Linked DNA regions of Homo sapiens: region 2 is linked to region 1. Evidence: promoter capture Hi-C in 16 types of primary human blood cells and fetal thymus (Javierre and others, 2016). All regions are on one chromosome and are shown on one strand. The core of a region is centred on a gene start or on the middle of the fragment in contact, and the rest is flanking DNA. Distances in the headings are between cores, read along the strand shown.

The links. Contacts are between HindIII fragments. The CHiCAGO score rates a contact against its expected background, and 5 or more counts as called.
Region 2: a contact is called between a fragment that was not itself captured here and the fragment with the promoter of APH1B in region 1, in 2 of 17 cell types (M2 macrophages and M1 macrophages). The highest score is 5.5, in M2 macrophages.

Annotation. Positions count from the first base shown.
Region 1 is chr15:63,276,351-63,280,490 of GRCh38, forward strand. It overlaps APH1B (aph-1B gamma-secretase subunit), which reads left to right and starts at 1,255. Exons shown (of 6, transcript NM_031301.4): 1 at 1,255-1,386; 2 at 2,811-2,981. The coding sequence starts at 1,274. It overlaps LOC124903504 (a long non-coding RNA gene), which reads left to right. Exons shown (of 2, transcript XR_007064674.1): 2 at 1-502. RefSeq lists silencers at 782-1,201, 1,282-1,561. The HindIII fragment of the contact is 9,433 bases long and covers 1-2,214 here.
Region 2 is chr15:63,220,394-63,224,387 of GRCh38, forward strand. All of the region lies in intron 1 of RAB8B (RAB8B, member RAS oncogene family), which reads left to right. Among named protein-coding and RNA genes, the nearest start is that of RAB8B, 33 kb to the left of the region's middle. The HindIII fragment of the contact is 2,664 bases long and covers 1,030-3,693 here.

The DNA.
Region 1 (4,140 bases), core at 5-2,504:
CCCAACATTTGTCTACTGGTGTTTTTTTAAATGTGGATTGCCAAAATCTTTATTCATGATGGACATTATGTAGGAGTGGTTAATACTTACATAGCACTTACCTGTGTCAGGCACACTGATCAAAATAACCGACGAAGTATTATTCAACATAAAGAAAAATCTAACTTGGATGTGAATGATCAGAGAACTTAAGTTTTAATTTTTAAACCTTTCAGAAATTGTTAATATAGATGTTTATAACTTCCACCTTTTAAATTATTTCACTTATTGAACAGATATTAGTGAACTTCTAGGTGCTGAGGAAACAACAAAGAGCAAAGCAAAGTCCCTGTCCCCCAGGAGTTCGCGTTTTAACGGGGAAGAAAAATAAGCAAGTGAAATGGACGACTGTGAGAAGACGGAGCAGGGAGATGTTACTATTGCTTGTAGGGTGGTCACAGAATGCCTGCAAAAACAACCCTTTTGAAGAATTGGGAAAAAAATAAAAACCATTTGGCTGAAACAGCCCTGAGAAGGGCAGCTTCTTCCACCACTCTTTCATCATTTTACCATCTGTGGGTTATCCCCGGGGTCACTGCTATCCCAGCCTAGGTTTTATACAGGATGGAGTACGAAGTTCCCGCAACTATCCAAACGGTAAAATGTGCTTAAAAAAAAAAAAAAACCTATTTAAAAAGGAATCCTGCTTGTTCCTGCGCTACATTTTTGTTTAGTCTCTTTGGTTGACTTGGAATCTCTGCCTGTTCTCGGTGCATGCGGCTCGAAGGTGGGCTAGGGAGCTTCCCTTCTCTTAACCACCTCGCGGCCGGCACTGGAACCCGATCGGAGTGTATCTGTGGGGCTGCGGCGATGGCTGGGGCCCTAACGTCGCCGAGGACGCCCGCCTCGGGAGCAGGAGCTGCGGCGTGGCCCTGGCGCTTCCGGACACCCGGTAGGGCGGAGGGCCCAACGGTGGGGTCCGCGCTCACCGCCTTGAGCCCGCCCCTGCGCCCGGCGCCCTCAGCCCACGCCCCGCCCAGTCCCCCAGGCCCTAGCGTTTACCCCCACGCCCCGCCTCGCCCCGCGACCCACGTACCCCGCCTCCGAGCCCCGCCCCCGCCCCCACGTGCCCCGCCCCCGAGCCCCGCCCCCGTCCCCGTGCCTGCCCATGAGCCGCGCCCCGCCCCCCGCGTCCCGCTTAGCCCCCCACCCCGAGCCCCACCCACCGAACCCCGCCCGCGCCGGGAGCATCTCGCGTCCCCAACGGGCCCCCGGGTCGGTTTCCGCGGTGGCCATGACTGCGGCCGTGTTCTTCGGCTGCGCCTTCATTGCCTTCGGGCCTGCGCTCGCCCTTTATGTCTTCACCATCGCCACCGAGCCGTTGCGTATCATCTTCCTCATCGCCGGGTGAGGCGGTCGCGTCGGGAAACCCGGACGCCGGGGCTCCCCTCCCCCGCTGGGGTTACCCGCGACCCTCGGCGCCCCCACCGCGCGGCTCGACCTTGTTGCGTTTCAGACGGGAGGAGGGTTGAGAGGGGGAGAGCGGAGATCCGGCTCCCCAAAGGCGCCTCGCCCTCTTAGGAAGAAGCGCACACTGGGGGTCAGGGCCTTTTGCCTGGGGCTCATGGGTGGGGTTTAGTGATCCGTGAAGCTACTAAAGTTGTATAAAAAAATTATGGATAAGTTCATATATGCATCCTTCATTTTCTGGAGGGGGAGTCCCTAATTTCCCTCAGATTCTCAAAGGCATGTGTAATCCCCAAAGGGTTAAAAACCATTGGCGTTTAGGATAGTAGTGCGCGACTTCCGCCTATTAGAATCACCTGTGGCCAGGTGCTTTAAAACATGCCGATGCCCACCCCCACCCCGATCCATTGAATCAGAATGTCTAGGGGATGGGATTCGGGCTTCAGAAAAAAAAAAAAAAATTTAAGCTCCTTTTGGATGGTTCCGTTGTGCAGCCGAAGGGTGGAAACCTGTAAAAACACCGAAGCACCTGACTGTGCGTCTCCTTCTGGGAGCTTGGTAAATACCGGACTCTGGTGTCCCATCGCAGTCATCACCTGCCTCTTACTTGCACATACCACATCCCCCCTCCTCTGATGAGTCTCTCTTGGCACCAGACTAGGCCAATGATTCCCGCTTTTCTGCGTTTCTTCACCTCCCACAAACGTATTGAAAGTGCTTCGCTGCATGTCATTTTAAAAATAATAGAGATTTGGGAAGGGTCTGTAAAGCTTGCTATAATCATTAGAATCCCCAGGGGTGCTGTAAGACCTGGAGGGCTTGGATACTGATCCAGATCAGAACACAGGTTTTCAAGTTGAATTTTATACCAGTCACTTTATTAATAGAGATGTAGATATTTTTCTGGAAAAGATACTCATCTTTGCAGATATCTGATCAGTAAATCCATAATTTCTTGTAAGTTTTAAGAATATGAAAATTGCAGTAATCAGGGTTGTGTATTTTCTTGTTTTGGCTCATCAATGGGCAGAGCATTGATTAGAAAGAGTAGCAAATAACCAAGTTTCTAGCTAGATAGTCCTTGGCAGATAGAGTCTGCAGATGTACTTGCAAGTAGCAGGGTCATTGAAAAAAGTAATTGTTGGGAAACCTCAGCCTTCCTCTTGGACACGTTTGTCTCACCAAGGAAAATGCACCGTTAAGAACAACTGATCAGAGTATCACTTTATGAGGACTTTCTTTTCCTTATTGAAACGTCAAGAAATCTCTTCCTTCTCAAGCAGGTTTTTTTTTTTTTCCTGCTTTTAAACATTATTAATCCTGTACTGATGTTCACTTGTAACTTTTTTTCCCGTATTTTTCAGAGCTTTCTTCTGGTTGGTGTCTCTACTGATTTCGTCCCTTGTTTGGTTCATGGCAAGAGTCATTATTGACAACAAAGATGGACCAACACAGAAATATCTGCTGATCTTTGGAGCGTTTGTCTCTGTCTATATCCAAGAAATGTTCCGATTTGCATATTATAAACTCTTAAAGTAAGTTAAATACCTGCCTTACCTTTTTTTTCCCCAGTTAGATTTTAGTTATGATTTGGTCATTTGAAACGTGAATATAGTATTGTATCTATGCCCTCCTACATAGTACTAAGCCAAGAGATTGGTACATTTCCAGCCTGAAAATCTTGAGTGTTCTTTTATCTTGTGGAAATTTCTTATTTCCTTCCTTTCTTCCTTTATTCAAAAAAATATTTCTTGAGAATCAATCCCAGACACTATCCTAGGTACTGGGGATACATCAGTGATTAAAAGACAGAGTCTCTGGCTTCATGGAGCTTATATTATAGTAGGAAGAGACAGACAATAAATGAATGAACAAGAAATACACTGGTATAGTAGGTAAGTGTCATGGAGACAAACAAGCTAGGGAAGCATTAAAACAACTACAGAAATCATTCCAGCTTAGAATGTATATGTTCTCTTTGCCACCACCTAAGTTAATTCTTTTTTTTTTTTTTTTTGAGACAGAGTTTTCGCTCCTGTTGCCCAGGCTGGAGTGCAATGGTGCAATCTCAGCTCACGGCAACCTCTGCCTCCTGGGTTCAAGCGATTCTCCTGCCTCAGCCTCCCGAGTAGCTGGGATTACAGGTGTGCACCACCATGCCCGGCTAATTTTTGTAATTTTAGTAGAGACAGGGTTTCACCATGTTCGCCAGGCTGGTTTCAAACTCCTGACCTCCAGTGATCCGCCCACCTTGGCCTCCCAAAGTGTTAGGATTACAGGCCTGAGCCACCACACCCGGCCAAGATAAATAATTCTTATGGAGACCATGCCTTCCATTATTTTGACTTTAGTAGGGGAAAACAGGAGTTCCTTTTGTGGTATTTCCTGTAGTTTTAAATCTATAATAGAAAATCACATTTTAAAAAATGCCTTGGGTTCCCTTGTTGGGCCAGAAAGTAGGTCTTCTCTAGGACTCACGAGGACCTCACATGAAACCACTGATTTGAAACACAGCTGGAACTTGGAACCATATTTCCTTTCAGGCAGTCATGAAATTGGCTTTGATTATGTAGTAAGTCTTAATAGAGTGATAAATGTGCTGTCTTTTTTCATTTGTACAAATGAAGTAATTAAGGCTGTCCATGAATTTCGTGGATATAACCAAGAGGAACCTCAACAACAACTCTTTTCATA
Region 2 (3,994 bases), core at 1,112-3,611, 55 kb before region 1:
ATATGGATTGCAACCCTTTATTGGGTCATGAAGTCAATTTACTGTGTACAGACCAACTTTTTTTTTTTAAATGGAGGGAAAGACAGTAGGACAAGAACATGAGAATAGAAGAGAGTACAGTGTTCACTGCACATATAAGAGTAAGGAGGAGTAAGAGTCAAGTGGTATTTTTTGAAACTTTCAGTGGTTTCATATTTTAGTGTTTTTTGTGTTTCACTTTTTTGTTTTATCACTTAAAGTTACCCAAATATGTAACTTAATTTGCCAGCCATTAAGATTCATTCCAGTAGGATCAATCTAGACATATGTAAACCTGATTGTATTCCAAAGTAATTGATCAGTGTCAAGAAATGTTTATTGAGTGCCTGTTACTTGCTTGGCAAACAGGAGGGAGGTTCCAAATGAAGTACTGTAAGTAAAAGATGAGGCTCCTGCTTTTTTTTAAAAAGGGTTTATCTTTCATTTATTCCTTTAAACATTTATCAGGCACTTATTTAATCAGCCGTATACAGTGCTAGATCCTCTGCTCAAGTGTAATTGGGAAGGTAAAACTTAAATGAAACAACAAAAATAATTAATTGCCACATGCATAATGATATGCATTCTAAATTCTGTAGGAGTTTAGGGTAGAGAGTGAGCAGAGTTGGCTGGAATAACTGGAGGACAGAGGAGGTAGAGTTTCTGAATCTTGAGGCACTTTCAGGATTCAGATGGAAAGGATGGAGAATGTTCCAGACAATGGGGAGATCTTGAAAAATGCTTAGAGGCAGGGAATACCACAGAGCATGAAAGAGGCATTTCTGAGGTTTTATGCTGAGGAATTGTGAAAAATAATGTTGGATATGTTGGATGGGGCCATATATTTTAAGATGGGTAATTGTAGAGTTACATAAACTAAAAAGGTATCCAGTATCCTGTGGTGCATACAGTCTACTTTGGGAGAAGGGAGGGATTATAAATAACTAATGAAGCTATACTGTATGTATTATGATGGAAGCTAGTACTGTGCTAGAAGTATTATAAGCAAAAAGCTTGAATGGCCATGTCAGTGGTTACCTTTGAGCTATATTAGTACTGCTCTGGCTTAGGGCTTGGCAACATCGCTGACTCAGTGACAAACTTCCTTTTTGGAAGTCCTGGCTCCTCACTTGCCAGCATATGACACTCCCAGTTCACCAGGTCATCCTGTCCCGAACTGCCCAGTTAATTGTGAAGCTATAAGACAGTCCTGGCCAGGGCTCATCTCCACCGCTAGCTGGGGATCCCACCACATAGCTAGACAGGTTCCTGAATGGACTTCTCCTTCAGGACCAGAGCATGGTTGGGGGTCTGTACATGTGCTTGCCTTCCACCCTGGGCTCACGAATTAATAGTGGAAATGTCTTCAAAGCAATTATTAAAAGTAATTATTGCTATGATTTCACTTTTGATTCTCCATTTATTTCACTTCTGTCTGCTTATTTATTTACCTACTTGATGTTTGTGGAGGCATGTATCAGTCAGCTTTTGCAGTTATACAACCCCAAAATCTCAGTTGCTTGTAACAGTCACATATTTGATTATTGCAGCTGAGGATTAACTGTAGCCCTTGGTCAGTTTTCTCTAATATTCATTCTTCCCTGTTTCTCCACCCAGGCTTCTGGGTCAGCTAGCTTCAGACTGGGTTCAGCTGATTAGAGAAACTGGCAGGAAATAATGCAAGAGGAGAAAGGGAGAAACCAAGATATTTCTCTTTTTCCCTTCTTGCCTTGGGTGGCTTCTCTAGCAGAGACTGTTTCTCTCTGGCTTTAGTTCTCACTGGACAGGACCACCATGGTTCTTGTCCAGTGACTCTATGTCTTCAGTTCCTATAACACCATCTCCTCCTTTTGTCTGTCCAGCTAAGGGGTGGTAGTGGCTCCCTGCTGTTGTCATCTCTTCCTTTTGTCTCTCCGGCTTAGGGGTGGTAGTGGCTCCCTGCTGTTGTTAAACCTTTTACCATCCCCAATATGGTTTGCAGCAATTTAATGCCTTATATAGCCAGTTCCCTCTATTAAATTCCTTCTGTTGTAAATACAGTCATGCACCACATAACAACATTATAGTGAATGATGGATCATATATAGGATGGTTGTCCCATAAGTTGATGATGATGATGATAATGATGATTTTTATTATTATTTGAGACGGAGTCTCACTCTGTTGCTCAGGCTGGAGTGCAGTGGCACAATCTTGGCTCACTGCAACCTCCGCTTCCTGGGCGCAAGCAATTCTCCTGCCTCAGCCTCCCGAGTAACTGGGACTACAGGCATATGCCACGACACCCGACTAATTTTTTTTGTATTTTTAGTAGAGATGGGGTTTCACCATGTTGGTCAGGCTGGTCTCGAACTCCTGACCTCAAGTGATCCTCCCGCTTTGGCCTCCCAAAGTGCTGGGATTACAGGTGTGAGCCACCATGCCCGGCCCACATAAGATTATAATGGAGCTAAAACATTTCTGTTGCCTAGTGACATCATAACTATTGTAATGTTGTACTACAGTTACCTTATTTTTTAAATATAATTTTGGTGTAGCTTAGGTGTATAGTGTTTATAGAGTCTACAGTAGTGTACAGTAATGTCCTAGGCCTTCACATTCACTCATCACTCTCTCATTGATTCCTTCAGAGCAACTTCCAGTCCTGTAAGCGCCTTTCATGGTAAGTACCCTATATAGGTATACCATTTTTATTTTACTTATTTTTTGTTATTTTTTGAGACGGAATCTTGCTCTGTCACCCAGGCTGGTATGCAGTGGCATGATTTTGGCTCACTGCAACCTCCACCTCCCGGGTTCAAGCGATTCTCCTGCCTCAGCCTCCCAAGTAGCTGGTACTACAGGCACCTGCCACCATGCCCGGCTAATTTTTGTATTTTTAGTAGAGACGGGGTTTCACTGTATTGGCCAGGCTGGTCTCGAACTCCTGACCTCAGGTGATCCACTTGCCTCGGCCCCAAAGTGCTGGGATTACAGGCATGAGCCACTGGGCCCAGCCACCATTTTTTATCTTTTATACCATGTTTTTACTGTACTTTTTCTATGTTTAGATATGTTTAAACACACAAATACTTACCATTGTGTTACAGTTGCATACAGTATTTGGTACAGTAGCATACTATATAAGTTTGTAGCCTAGGAGCAATAAACAGGCTATACTACGTAGACTAGGTGTGTAGTACATGCTATGATGTTTGCACAAAGACGAAACCACCTAAAAATGCATTTTCCAGAACGTCTGGTTGTTAAGTGACACATGACTATACTTGAAGACACACGACTGTACTTGTACTGGTTGTTAAGTGACACGTGACTGTACTTGGTTGTTAAGTGACACATGACTGTATTTGATTTCTTTTTCCTGACTAGACCCTGACTGATACACTGTTCCAAAAAAGGAGTTTTTCTTTTGTCTTTATATTGTTTTCTTCTATAGTGCGGCCTCACATAGAGGAATAAAAACAACCCATTTTATTATCCCACAAAATGTCTGCTAATGAAGCAGTGTGATGTAGTGGACAGAGTATTGGATTTGGAATCACTGTCACTTATAGCACTGTGGTGTTGGGTAAGTCACTCATTCTCTCCGTGTGGAGATACTTATGATTCCTGTTATACCTACATCTTCAGGGTTGTCTGTGATGATCAAAACAAGGAAATGCTTATAAACTATCAAGCTTTATTCAAGTGATGCACGGAGCCTCAATGATGTTGTAGAACAGTCTGCCAGCTGGCCATATTTTATTTTATTTATTTTTATCATTTGTAGTTGTTTCCAACATAGTTTCTTTCTCATTATAAACTCAGAATTGGAAGATGCAACTATAATTAGATAGAGAAAAGTTATAGAAAATATTCATCCCATGTTGGAAGATATTTATGTATATTTAAAAGGTATTCTTCAAATGGCCAAGTACATTTGACCACTGATAATACCCCAGGTATCCAAACTTTTTTAGTTCTTCCTAGTCTTACT